Regions from separate parts of the Homo sapiens genome. Here all the other regions are linked to region 5. The links are contacts of gene promoters, found by promoter capture Hi-C in human tissues and cell types (Jung and others, 2019). All regions are on one chromosome and are shown on one strand. The core of a region is centred on a gene start or on the middle of the fragment in contact, and the rest is flanking DNA. Distances in the headings are between cores, read along the strand shown.

What was found. The method cuts DNA at HindIII sites, captures the fragments that hold promoters and counts their contacts. A contact is called where the count stands out against the background at its distance.
Region 1: a fragment that was not itself captured here is called in contact with the fragment with the promoter of SLFNL1 in region 5 in 1 of the 25 tissues and cell types used here (aorta).
Region 2: a contact is called between a fragment that was not itself captured here and the fragment with the promoter of SLFNL1 in region 5, in 3 of the 25 tissues and cell types used here (H1 embryonic stem cells, liver and thymus).
Region 3: a fragment that was not itself captured here is called in contact with the fragment with the promoter of SLFNL1 in region 5 in 1 of the 25 tissues and cell types used here (thymus).
Region 4: a fragment that was not itself captured here is called in contact with the fragment with the promoter of SLFNL1 in region 5 in 2 of the 25 tissues and cell types used here (IMR-90 fibroblasts and thymus).

The regions. Positions count from the first base shown.
Region 1 is chr1:41,203,630-41,206,329 of GRCh38, forward strand. The region is part of intron 1 of SCMH1 (Scm polycomb group protein homolog 1); the gene reads right to left. Among named protein-coding and RNA genes, the nearest start is that of SCMH1, 37 kb to the right of the region's middle. The HindIII fragment of the contact is 3,341 bases long and covers 1-2,700 here.
Region 2 is chr1:40,848,909-40,851,751 of GRCh38, forward strand. All of the region lies in intron 1 of LOC105378676 (a long non-coding RNA gene), which reads right to left. Among named protein-coding and RNA genes, the nearest start is that of CITED4, 12 kb to the right of the region's middle. The HindIII fragment of the contact is 9,569 bases long and covers 1-2,843 here.
Region 3 is chr1:41,221,610-41,224,309 of GRCh38, forward strand. The region is part of intron 1 of SCMH1 (Scm polycomb group protein homolog 1); the gene reads right to left. Among named protein-coding and RNA genes, the nearest start is that of SCMH1, 19 kb to the right of the region's middle. The HindIII fragment of the contact is 7,059 bases long and covers 1-2,700 here.
Region 4 is chr1:40,777,663-40,780,362 of GRCh38, forward strand. No RefSeq gene overlaps it. Among named protein-coding and RNA genes, the nearest start is that of KCNQ4, 4.8 kb to the right of the region's middle. The HindIII fragment of the contact is 3,683 bases long and covers 1-2,700 here.
Region 5 is chr1:41,020,361-41,023,060 of GRCh38, forward strand. SLFNL1 (schlafen like 1) reads right to left here and starts at 1,365. Exons shown (of 6, transcript NM_144990.4): 1 at 1,263-1,365; 2 at 504-510; 3 at 1-418. The coding sequence starts at 300. The region is part of intron 1 of SLFNL1-AS1 (SLFNL1 antisense RNA 1); the gene reads left to right. The HindIII fragment of the contact is 20,466 bases long and covers 1-2,700 here.

The sequences.
Region 1 (2,700 bases), core at 124-2,623, 180 kb after region 5:
TGGGTTTACTGGAATGAAGGCAAGGAACACCTGGCCCACCCAGGGCAGAAAACCACTTAAAGGCATTCTTAAGCCACAAACAATAGCATGAGCGATCTGTGCCTTAAGGACATGCTCCTGCTGCAGTTAACTAGCCCAACCTATTCCTTTATTTTGGCCCATCCCTTCGTTTCCCATAAGGGATACTTTTAGTTAATCGAATATCTATAGAAACAATGCTAATGACTGGCTTGCTGTTAATAAATACGTGGGTAAATCTCTGTTCGGGGCTCTCAGCTCTGAAGGCTGTGAGACCCCTGATTTCCCACTTCACACCTCTATATTTCTGTGTGTCTTTAATTCCTCTAGCGCCGCTGGGTTAGGGTCTCCCCGACCGAGCTGGTCTCAGCAATGTTGTTCAATTTTCACTAGTCTATAAGGCAGGCACTATTATTATCTGCAGGCACTATTATTATCTTCATTTTAATGATGAGAAACCAGTGCAGAGAGATATCTTATAATTTGCCCAAGGTTACACAGTTGGTACATGGTGGAGCTGGGAATCAAAACAATGGAATTTGGCCAAATTTCTTGTCTCTTAGGCTTAGGATTTTTCAAGGAAAACTGGGCTATTTAGTACGCCTTAGCAGCAAATGCAATCTTTTTCCTGTGTTTGAATTACAGGTTCTCAGTATTGACCTATTTTCTTCCCTATATGATCCTGTCCTGACTATATGTTAAGGTAAGTTAGATCATATCACTCTCCAGCTTAAAATCTCCCAAAGCCTCCCCATAGCACTTCAAATCAAATCCAAGTACCTTATCCTGGCCCACATAGTCCTGCATGATCTGACCCCTACTTACCTCTTCTACTTCATCTCCTATGGCTCTCACCTTTTGCTTTGCTCCAGCTATACTGGTCTTCTCAGCTCCTGTTGGAGGCCAAGTTCCTTATGACCTTGGGGCCTTTACACTCCCTGGAATGTTCCACCTCAATATTCACATGTCTGGCTTTTCATCATTCAGGTCTTAGCTTAAATGTCACCTCCTCAGAGAATCCTTCCCTGATCACTCAAACTAAAGTAGTCACCTAGACCCTTTCTATCATACCACTCTTAATTCTCCACATAGCAGTTAGCACCATTTAATATTTTCCATATCTATTTATTTGTCTCTCTCACTGGGGTGTTTATGTTATTCATTCAGCATTATATCCCAGCACCTGGAATAGTGCCTGGTGTAAGAGGAGATACTCAATAGGTATTTATTAATGAAATGGGTATATGCTAATTTAATAGTAAGGAAAAAAGGCACAAAACTAAAAAATTATATGACCAGAATAGTGGCTACTTACTGAATTGAAAATACATTATACTTGGATGGCTTATAATTACAACCCACAAATTGATTTCTGAGAGAAAAACAGTTAAGGAAAATCTCTTAAAATGAAACAAAAATGACTGAACTGCAGGATGGCTGAATAGGAACAGCTCCAGTCTGCAGCTCCCAGCATGATCGATGCAGAATACGGGTGATTTCTGCATTTCCAACTGAGGTATCTGGTTCATCTCATTGGGACTGGTTGGACAGTGGATACAGCCCACGGAGGGCAAGCCGAAGCATGACGGGGCATCACCTCACCTGTGAAGCACAAGGGTTGGGGGATTTCCCTTTCCTAGCCAAGGGAGGCCGTGACAGACTGCACCTGGAAAATCAGTACACCTCTGCCCAAATACTGTGCTTTTCCCATGGTCTTAGCAACTGGCAGACCAGGAGATTCTCTCCTGTGCCTGGCTCGGCAGGTCCCATGCCCATGGAGCCTTGCTCACTGCTAGCGCAGCAGTCTGAGACTGACCTCAATCAATTCGGGGCTCTCAGCTCTGAAGGCTGTGAGACCCCTGATTTCCCACTGCATCCTCGCGGGGGGGAGGGGCATCTGCCATTGCTGAGGCTTGAGTAGGTAAACAAAGTGGCCAGGAAGCTCGAACTGGGCAGAGCCCACTACAGCTCAACAAGGCCTACTGCCTCCATAGACTTCACCTCTGTGGGCAGGGCATAGCTGAACAAAAGGCAGCAGACAACTTCTGCAGATTTAAACATCCCTGTCTGATAGCTTGAAGAGAGGAGTGGTTCTCCCAACACTGGGAGGTACCTCCCAGTAGGGGCCGACTGACACCTCATACAGGCAGGGGCCCCTCTAGGACGAAGCTTCCAGAGAAAGGATCAGGCAGCAATATTTGCTGTTCTGCAATATTAGCTGTTCTGCAGCCTCCGCTGGTGATACCCAAGCAAACAAGGTCTGGAGTGGACCTCCAGCAAACTCCAACAGACCTGCAGCTGAGGGACCTGTTAGAAGGAAAACTAACAAACAGAAAGGAATAGCATCAACATCAACAAAAAGGACATCCATACCAAAATCCCATCTGTAGGTCACCAACATCAAAGACCAAAGTTAGATAAAACCACAAAGATGGTGAGAAACCAGAGCAGAAAAGCTGAAAATTCTAAAAACCAGAGCGCCTCTTCTCCTCCAAAGGATCGCAGCTCCTCACCAGCAACAGAATAAAGCTGGATGGAGAATGACTTTGACAAGTTGACAGAAGAAGGCTTCAGAAGGTCAGTTAATAACAAACTTTTCTGAGCTAAAGGAGGATGCTCAAACCCATCACAAGGAAGCTAAAAACCTTGAAAAAAGATTAGATGAATGGCTAACTAGAATAA
Region 2 (2,843 bases), core at 173-2,672, 170 kb before region 5:
GGGCTGTGTTCTCTGCCCTTCATTCACTTATTCTACAATTGTTTGTTCATTTCTAGTACATGCCAAGCACTATTTTAGGTGCCAAGGTCCTAGCAGCTCACTCACAAAGTCCCTGCTCACATAGAGTAGATAGTAGATTACTGTCTAGACAGAAAACAAACAAAAAAAACACGATAATTTCATGGGGTGATAAGTGCCGTGAAGAAAATAAAATGGAAATGGAATAGTGACTGTGTTGCAGGGGGCGTCTTTCAGAGAGATGGTCAGGGAAGCTCAAGGGGAATCCAAAGCCTTCATAAAAAGTCAGAGCTGCCAAGGCTCCCAAGGGACCACTGGTCCCATAGCCTCATTTTGCAGCTGGGAAAACTGAGGCCTAGTAAGCCAAGGCAGAGCCCAGAGCTGAGCCCGAGTCTCTCGACCTCCAGATGGCTGGATGGCTTCCTCCTCTCCTCCCCTCACATCCTTAACCTCCCCCATGTCATCTTAGGGGGAAGGAGCAGATACAGGGGTGCTCTCAGAACGTGGGCATTAAACAGGGACCAGGGGAGTGAAGGGCAGCAAACAATACGAAACCACACAACAATGGGAAAGAAGTTCCACGAAGTTCAGATTTTTCCCATGCTGCAATTCTGAGCCTTTTTTTTTTTTTCAAAAATATTATGCATCAAATTCTTCTTCTGAAGTTTGGTTTTGGTGCCTCTGCTTTGCCTGTTTGAGGGGTATGACTGTGGAGAGTCATATGGGAGCCTTGGTTCCCTCACCTGCAAAATCCGAACCCAACTTTCCTGACTCCAGCAGTACTGTTGTGTGCAGCCTTTGTAAAGACCACAGGCACCCCCTCCCCATGGCTGTGCGGGTCTGGTCCCTTCCCTCTGCTTCTGAGCCCATCCCCGCTTGCCCACCCCAGCCCTGAGTCTGTCCACAGGAACATCCGACACAAGCGCACTTTGTTACAGACTCACTGTGACACCATGAGGTGGTTTTGGGTTTGTTCTCATGCCCGATTTGCCAACCAGGAAGCAGGCTTGCATGTGTGAGAGGGCTTGCTGAAGGTTGCACAGCCAGTAAGTGACAGAGCCAGGACTTGAACAGAAAGTTCCATTCAGTTTTCTCTACTCAAGGCTTCCATCCAAAATGACAACAACAGCAACAACCACCACCCAACGCTTTGGTGTTTGGGGATCTAAGCTTCATTTCTCTGAAAATGCACTGATGTGCAATGTGGATTTCGTGTTGGTCGAGGTGTCCAGGTGGTGTCACTTGGTGTGGTGCTGCCACCTGCCGAGAAAAGATGGGTGTTGCATCCCATCTCAAGCAGGCGCCGTCCAGGCCGAACCCAACTGTAGAGGCCTTTTCAATGCTTTTAAGTCCACTAAAAAGCGCAGCAAAGAAGCCCCAGACATGGGTCACTTGACCCATGGAAACACTGAGGTCCAAAAAGATCCTTTAAACAATTCATCTACCTTTGTTGACCTGACTTCCTCTTTTCCCATTTCCCACTGACCATGGCATCCTGTCTCCTGCCTCTCCACTCCCCTGGAATTGCTCTGGCAAAGTCATTTTGACTTTCTGATTGCCCAATTGAACAGCCTCTTTTTAGTCCTCACTTTACCTGACTTTTCAGCAGCATTAGGAACCCCTGACCACGCCCTCCTTTGGGAAACATCTCCCTGGGCTTTCAGGACACCTTTCTGCTGTTTCTCTCCCACTTCCCCAGCTGCTAATTCTCGGCCTCTATCCAAGGTTCTGTCCTTGGCCACATTCTTTTATCACTGGGCATCATCATTCCCAAGGCAACAATGGATGTGCTAATACCCCCCCAAACAAAGTTACTGTCAGTCCAGACCTAATTCCTGAGCTCCAGACCCATTTATCTGGCCCTCTTCCTCCTAGATGTCCACCTTGGATGGCCTGATGTGTCCATCCTAATCTATCCTGCTCCCTACAGCCTGCTCTTCCTGCTAGGATTCACCTCATGGAAGAGTCACTCTGTGCCCCAAGCCACACCCCTGGGAATCATTTTCCACTCCTTTCCTGTAGCCTCCACATCAGTGGGTCATTATCGTGACTGCAGGATCCATTCCCATCTTCTTCCCAGTAGCAGAACCTCTGAATTCTGCTTACACATATGGCCACCCAGAATAAAGACTACATTTCTGAGCCTCTTTTGTAGTTAGGGGCAGAAAACTTCCAGAAAGTTCACGACTCCTCTTTTCTCTTTTTTTCTGGCTGGAATGTTGATATGGTAGCTCGAGCAGCCTTTTTGGATCATGAGGTCTAACCCACAAATGACAAAGCAACAAGGTGGTGGGGCCTAGATGCTGACACTATGGATAACTACACCCATTCTGGACTACCTACCTGGTTCTTTTTATTTAAGCTACTGTTTTTCTGTCACTCAAAGCCACGTGCATAATCCTAAGTAATCGAGATAGAGTCATTCATTCTTCAAAAGAATATTCATGTATGCTAGACATTGCATTTCATGCTTTCTCAGCGCTCTCCATTTCTCCCACCTGCCCCTCTCAAATCCATTCTACTCACCACAGCCAGAGTGACCTTTCCAAAACACAAACCCAACTGTTTCCACTCGGCTCATGTCGTCTGTGACTCCCCATTACTAACAGAATCAAGTTCAAGCTCCTCAGCCTGCCACTAAGGGTCACCCCTCTTTGACCCTTGCCTACTCCGAGCACAACCCTTCCCCCGCTGACCATGCACCCTACACACTAACCACCCCGGACTTGTTGCCTTTCCTAGTAAAGTCTTATTCATTCATGTCACTCGGCATTTGCACACATTGTCACCTCCCTTGGAATTTCCTTCTTTCACGTGCTCATGTT
Region 3 (2,700 bases), core at 156-2,655, 200 kb after region 5:
AGGCGCGGTGGCTCATGCCTATAATCCCAGCACTTTGGGAAGCCAAGCTGGGCGGACCACTTGAGGCCAGGAGTTCAAGACCAGCCTGGCCAACATGGCGAAACCCTATCTCTACTAAAAATACAAAAAAAAATTAGCCAGGTGTGGTGGCAGGCACCTGTAGTCCCAGCTATTCAGGAGGCTGAGGCAGAAGAATTGCTTAAACCCGGGAGGCAGAGGTTGCTGTGAGCCAACACTGCACCACTGAACTCTCCAGCCTGGGTGACAGAGCAAGACTCCGTCTCAAAAAAAAAAAAAAAAAAAAAAAAAAAAAGCTAGGAAACAAAGGACTGGAGATTGACATCATTAAGCAATCAAGCAATCAGTGATAAGTCTTGAGAGAGCAGAACCATCTACAAATGATATGAACAGATAAATAATCTTAAACTGGCAGCATTAAGTCAAAGAGATATACCTATATCTGGTTTTAGGAAACATTATTTGCATAATTCTAACATACTTTATGTGGAATACAGAGAAGGAATAAGACAAGCAGAAAGTGAGGGAAGGGAAGGAAGGGAAAGAAGAAAAGGAAACAAGGGAAGGGAAGAAGAAGAAAGAGAAAGCATGAAGGAATTAAACAAAGAAAGGAAAGGAGAAAAAGAAATACTGCAAATATGAAACAACTGCTTTAAGTGACTTGGTGCTTTGCCATAAAAATAGACAATAAAAGTGATAAAGTGATGTTGGTGAAGATAGGCAAAGAAATACTCTTTTGCAAAAGTTAAACAAAATCAAACACTGGATTTCCTCAAAATCTTTAGATTTTATAGTTATATACTTACAGCTATATAAGCACCTTTACCTTCATATAGGAAAAAAACCCTTGAAACAATTACTATACTAACTCTTTATAACATGAGGCTTCCTAGGAATGCACCTTCTATAATACAGCAAAAGAGACTGTACCGAGACATATCACAGTGCTAAGGGGAAGATGGCATTATGCCAAGGAACTCTACAGAAGTACTGCTTAGAAAATCCAGACACCTGGCACCCTAAAGCCTTTTTTCACTTGGGTATTACGGTCCACCAACAACTAGGTTGGTGGGTTTGGAGGCAGATTTTCATTTCTGGAAAGGGGTAATTCAAACACTCAAGAAGAGTCCTAGGCAGGTAATCTAAACAGAAAGTGAGAATGGAAACTGACATTGCATAATGGGACTGTATGATGCAGTCATTTTTCAAAGGATACTTCTGTTGAGATGAAGAATCCCTGATTTCTGATGATAGGGTAATAGGGAAAACTGGAGAAGATCCTAGCCCACATGAAATCATCTCTTTCATGAAGTGTATACATTTATATTATTGTACTATTTTGTATTATAATTTATTTGTCTGATTCCTCTACTAGATTATGAGCCTTGTGGGGTGAGGTTGCTTCATGTTTATTTCTTTATCCCCTAATCTGAATTTTCTGAGAATTAGTCCTAAATCCCTGTCGGATAAAATTGTGGGAGGTTTTGAAATGGGCAAGAGAGATTACTGCATATTCTATCAATGGAATCTGGAGCCTTCCAGGATTACCTGATTGTATAGAGATGTGTTACTTGGTCTCTCTTTAATTAGGCTATTTCACAGCTTTGTCAAGAAAGATGTCAGCTTGTTGAAAACTCACAGTAATGCAAATAATTCCTGTCCACTGAAATGCAAACTGTGCCCAGGTAATGCAATTGATAACTGTCCTATGGGTATTGACGAGTTTTGTCACCATTTGTGAATTAAGTTCAGCATTCCCTGACAATAAATATGTGGTACTTTGGGTCCTCTCTGAGCCATCTTTGTACTATCTTTCTGTTTCCCACATGGATTAATGAGTTAAAATTTTGTTCATTCTATATTTGTGTGAGAGTCGTAATTTTATCTTTTTTTTTTTAAGGAAAATTATCCCTCAATCATCCCTAACAAGTTTTAAATTTCATTTAGGGCAGGGACTGTATCTTTCAATGTATCGTAAAAATACAACTAGATTTGGAAAAGGCCTAGGTTTAATCGTTGCTCAGTAAGTACTGATTGTATATGATGCAAGCTAATTTCCAGCGCCATCTTTAATTCTCAGTGGTTCATATATCATATATTAGATGGGATTAATTCCTGCCTTGCCAACTTTCAAAGACCTGTTGTGAGAATCAGATAATAACCTGCAAACATTTGGGTAATCTATAAAGCTCCCTGCTCTGTCATTTGCAAGGCTATCAAAGTGGTTTTCCTACAACACTCAAGGGATAGTCTTTGTTTTCTGCTCAAAACCCTTCACTGACTCCTCTTGCCCACAGAATGACATTTAAACTCCCCAGGATGGTACAAAAATCATCCTCGGATGATCCAGCCCTTGCCTACCCTCTAGCCTCACCTTTAGTCAGCTCTTCTTAACCTTAATACACAGCAGTAATAAACGATTTATACAGTTCCAAACACTACATATGCTGACTCCTTCCATCTGGATCGCCCCCTCTTTCACCTCCTCAGTCTACCTAAAAAACGTCTACTCATCCTTTAAAACCTAATTTGCATAGAATAGAAGCTTTCCTCATACTCTCAGACAAAATCATTATCTCTTCCATGAAGTGTATACATTTATATTATTGTGCTATACTGTATTATAATTTATTTGTGTCTGATTCCTCTACTAGATTATGAGCCTTAAAGGGTAATGCTGCT
Region 4 (2,700 bases), core at 182-2,681, 240 kb before region 5:
GCAGCCTCAAATCAGCTCTTATAGCAGTGTCTTGGTTTGGGATTTTTGCATGGCCTGGATATCAAATCCTGAGCCCACACCCCCTGTGGACAGACTGAGGTGTCACACTTATAAGGATCCTCTTTCTGCTTAAAGCCAGGGACCAGGTGGCTAGCAGACAGAGATTTTAATGTTCACGGCAGGCAGCACTTTACCAGACTCAGCTTTAAGCAGAAAGCCTACTGTTGTCCCTGGCATTTTTGAGGTTGGCAACTATACTTCCCACCCTCCCACCCCACTGGACACTGGACCCCCCCTCAGAAATACACCTTCAATTCCTGCTTGCCACCAGGAATTACCTCTTATGGTCTTACACAATTCCCCATTCTTGCTTTTGGTGCTTGAATATGTACTTTTTTTTTCTTTTAATTATCAGCTGGGCATGGTGGCTCATGCCTGTAATCCCAGCACTTTGGGAAGCCAAGGCTGGTAGATCACTTTGAGGCCAGGAGTTCGAGACCAGCCTGGCCAACATGGTGAAACCCCATCTCTACAAAAAATAAAAATATTAGCCAGGCATGGTGGTACACACCTGTATTCTCAGCTACTCGAGAGGCTGAGGCAGAGAATTGCTTGAACCCAGGAGGCAGAGGTTGCGGTAAGCCAAGATCACACCACTGCATTCCAGCCTGGGTGACAGAGCAAGAACTGGTCTCAAAAAAAAAATTTTTTTTTAATTTAAAAAATTATTTAGCACTTATCTTGCTTTGCACATCTAATATTTCAAAGAGGAGGAATTTAATAAGCGTTTAATCAAGCTTGACCTGGAAATCCTGGTCTCTGAGCCTTCCATCCCTGTCACCCAGTCTCTAGCCTCTCTTTGGAGCCCCCATTCTCCTCCCTGAATCCCATCTCCCTTACCAGGTTGTCATCCTCTTTCTGAACCCCATTTCCTGCTACTCAACCTTCTGTCCCTCCTACTCACGTCATCTCCCTCCCTGAGCCCTCATTCAAGTTTCTCCCACCAGGCGAGCATGGAAGTTCTTTTCCACTGCACACTCAGCAACTCAGAAAAGTCCTTCCTTTTCATTTTTCAGCCAACTCTATTGTCCCAGTGGTTCTCACCGAGAACATGGAGTTAACCAGCAGGACCACAGCACTGTTGCCTTCTGCATGGTCTTCCAGAGGTAGAGGTTAGAGGAAGGATCTTACAGGAAGAATCCTGAAGGCAGAGGAGGAGCCCTGCAAGAAGGGAGGGCTTTGACCTTCATTTCCACGCCCCTTTCTCCCTCTGTGTCTCCTCTGTGTGGGCCCCCTCCAGCCCTGAGGATCAATGGGGGTTCACTTTCACTGAGCTCAGCAACACTGCTCCCTCCCCACTTCCTGTGGCTCTGAGCTGACTGGCCTGCTTGGTCTAGGCTGGGGGCTGGTCAGTGCCACACCCAGATCTGGGGAAAAGAAATTCCTTGGCTGGCGAGGTGGCTCACGCCTGTAATCCCAGCACTTTGGGAGGCCAAGACGGGCGGATCAGGAGGTCAGGAGATCGAGACCATCCTGGCTAACACGGTGAAACCCCGTCTCTACTAAAAATACAAAAAAATTAGCCAGGCATGGTGGCGGGCGCCTGTAGTGCCAGCTACTTGGGAGGCTGAGGCAGGAGAATGGTGTGAACCCGGGAGGCAGAGCTTGCAGTGAGCCGAGATTGCGCCACTGCACTCCAGACTGGGCAACAGAGCGAGACTCCATCTCAAAAAAAAAAAAAAAAGGAAAAGAAAAAGAAATTCCTTGGGCCCCTCCAGCACCTCGTGGCCTAAGTCTCTTGTCCTTTCTGGGCTGCACAGGGAAAAGGAAGAAGGCCTTATCTTTCTCTCATGCTTCCTCCTGCTCTCAGTAGAGGTGGGTTCCCAAAGGTCAATAATGTGATGCCATCACCCCCTGAGCACTCTCCACTCCAATCCCCTCCTAGGAAGGCTTCCTAGATTGAGAAGAACTGCTAGGACCAGGGAATTCCCAGAGCATCTCCCTGCTCCACCTGAAACACGTACCTGAAGAGCAGTCAGACGAATGGGTCACGTGCGTACAGCCCCCTGCATGGTCTCTAACTTTTTCATGCATTATTGCATTCAGTGCTGATAGCCAGGGAAAGTGGGGAAGAGGTGGAGTGACTTGCCCAAGGTCCCCAGGTATTCCACAGGTGGAGCTAGGACTGGAAGCCCAGCCATGACTTGTAGTTTAGGGCTCTTTCTGCCCCTGGCACTGCCAGCCTCTCTGGATGCTGGTGCCTCCCACTTCACCCATCCTGGGTTCTCTCCTAGGGAGCCACAGCCTCTGCAGCATGCCCAGCCTCAGGGCCTGGCCAGGCTCCCTGTTTCTTATCAGGCCAAATTGGACCCTCCATCCTGGCATTCAAGTCCTCCTGCGTGCCCCTGGCTAAGCTTGCTCTTCCGAATGCTCTGTAACATTCTTCCCACACCAGTACACACACACACACACACACACACACACACACACACACACACATTAAAGCAGCACCTGAGTGAATTAACAGCCATACAAGGCAAGTCTCTTCACTGAGCCTCAGTCTTCTTGAGTGTAACATGGGACCGTGAACAGTATTACCGCACAAGGTTGTGGGGATGCTGAAATAGACAATGCAGGTAAAACATCCTGCATAAGGCTTAGGATTGACTGCAGGCCTCATTAATGGTAGCTGCAGGCATT
Region 5 (2,700 bases), core at 115-2,614:
GACAGTCACCTGCACCAGTGCATAGGCCTTCCGCGGCCGCCTCACCACTTCAATGTGCTCCCGCGCCACCGGCATCTCCAGCCGCTCCAGGGTGTCTCGCAGCAGGCAGGCAAGCACCGGCACTGAGAACTGGGGGTTCAGATGGCCCACATAGAGAGTGTGCGCCGAGGGAGCCTCCTCGAGGTCAGAGTACTCCGTCAGGGACTGCTCTGCGGGTAGCTCCGGCAGGGACTCCTCACCCCAGGACTCCATGAAGGGCTCTGACACCTGTGTTTGCACTGATCTCTTCATGGGGGTCATGGGAAGGCTCTCCCTGGGAAGGGGTTCCAGGATTCCTCACTGCTGGCTGCTTCTCCCAGGGTCTGTGTTCTCAGTGTGGCTTAAGGGCTCCCAGAGGACTCAGGGAGTGTCCCGGCTCCTGGGAGGTACACAGATTGGCAGAGACTGGGCAGGGCCAGAGAGAGGGAGGGCAGAGGGCAAGCAGGAAAGGGCCTGCCACCCACCTGAGGCCTAGGATGAGAAAGCAGAGTCACGTGGACTGAGCAAGACACAGGGCCTGTGGGAAGACGGGATCTGCCCAAAAAGTGGCAGAAGGGACCAGAACTCAGGTCTCTGAGAGCTCCACCATTTCAGTGGCCCCAGGGGTCCTGTCTTCCCTCCCCAACCCACAGGCTAGGGGCCTCCTAGGTACCCTCAGGGTTTCCTGCCTACCAGTTCACTCCTGCCTCCAGGCAACAGAGAAAACCTTTACACAGGGCCTCCTGGAGAGGAGGCCTTAACCCAGGACTCTGAGGACTGGCTGGTGGCCCCATTGCAGCTTCTCTGCCTGCTCTAAAACCCCATGTGAGGCCATCGGGGGCTCTGAAACTAGGCAGCGCTGGGGCAGAGGCTTTTAGAGCAGAGGATCTCACGCTTTTTGGCACACTGATGAAAGCTATGGCCTCTCAGAAAAATGGCCTTTGCATATAAACATAACTTAAGGTGGCTCCTAGACCCTAAGAACTAGTCTAGACTGAGTCCTCCATTTTTGGTCCAGAGAGCAGAGGTCAACAGGGCAGAACGAGGGTTAGAGTTGGGGCCCTAGTGCCCCCGCCCCAAGTCCAGGGAGCCTCTGTCCTGAGCTGTGCACATATGTGCACACACCAGCCCCTCTACTGCTCCCCACACACCCAGCCTGCATCTTCTCAAATGGAATCCTTGAGGCAGTTGGCCTGGGGGCATTCAGGTCAAACAGGAAGAGGAGGAGAGGAGAGGCCTATGACCTTCATGTCCTGGTGGCTCCCGCGGGAGCATGGGAGGTGCCTGCCCTGAGCTCCCATAGCCTCCCGACCCCTGGCCGGTAGCTCTCAGGGAACTTGGAGGCTTGGCACAGGGACGGCCAGAACCAGGGTTATAGGAAGTGGGCGGGGCCTGCACAGCTACCTCTGTGATCTCATGAGGTTCAACAATGCCTTCTTGGCCAGCCACAGGCAGGCTGGGTGCGGGAAATCAAACAGGAAAACTCAGCTCCCTGTGGGTCCCACCACACACTGGAAGCAGACCCAGCGGCCCACCCACCATGCAGCTTGGCTGTGGGACACACTTCCCCACTTAGTGATGTCTCTTCAGGCCCCAGTTCCCATGCAGGTCACCTCTTGCCACCTCTTTCAGCGCTGCTGCCTAAAGCCTCCACCTCCCTCTTTAGTCAGTCACCAATCCCAGGCTCTACTGAGTACTGACAGGGCCCAGCTGCTCCCAAGATGGAGCAGGAGGCACATGGTAGGCTCCAGGGCTCCCCCTGACGCCAGGCCCTTCTCTGTGCTGGAGACAGAGGCTGCTGTCCAGAAGAGCCCTGAAAAATAGGTCAGGCGTAGCTATCTATCTCTTTGGGAAGATGAGGTTGTTACCTGCTGTTGGAGAAACCAAGACGTGGGTGACACACAGTCTTTATCAGCACAGGACTGACCAGTGCTCATCATTCTGCAGAAGGCTGGCAGCGCTTGCCCACACTGCTTCTGGAAGCCCCAATTGGGGGCAGTAAGGATGGTGCCACAGTTAGATGCTTCAACTAAGAAAGCTGTTTGACAGCGTAGAGAAGCTGCCTTCCTTGAAAGCAGCCTTTCTGAAGATGTTACCAAATGTTTGTTTCCTAGGGGGTGAGGCAGTAGTTTGGGTAGAGCACTCAAGAAAAGAGGCTATGGTGTGCGGGGAAGAGAGGGGCGCAGGCCTCAACTGGTGGCAGTGCGAGGCTCTGGGGAGAGTGCATTCGGTGCCCTCTCCTTGCCCGCCCGGGCAGCAGCCAGGTTGGGCTCGGCTTTGTGTCCACAGCTCTTAGGGTTAGAGAATGACGGCTCCAAGCTCCCCCTGCCTCACCCCCTCTCCCTCAAGCCTTTCTTGCCTCTGTCATCCATGAGGTGCCCTCACAGCAACTGAGGCTATAGCTGTTTTGAGATGGCCAACTCAAGTCGTGTTGAACTGTGCAGAAATAGCTGTCCGGGAGAAGCACCTTGACAGACGAAACACCTGAACATGACCAGAGGCGTTCTCCCTACTTACCTAGAGGCCTTGCTATTGGGTGGCTGTTCTGCATGAAATTTCCCAAATTGACTTGAGTGCAGCAACTTTCCCCACTCTTCCTGGCAGTCTCTTTAAGCCACTGCATCACATATTTCTCTGGCGCCTTTAACAGCCTTCTGTGAGCTGAATCAGTTCTACTTCTTT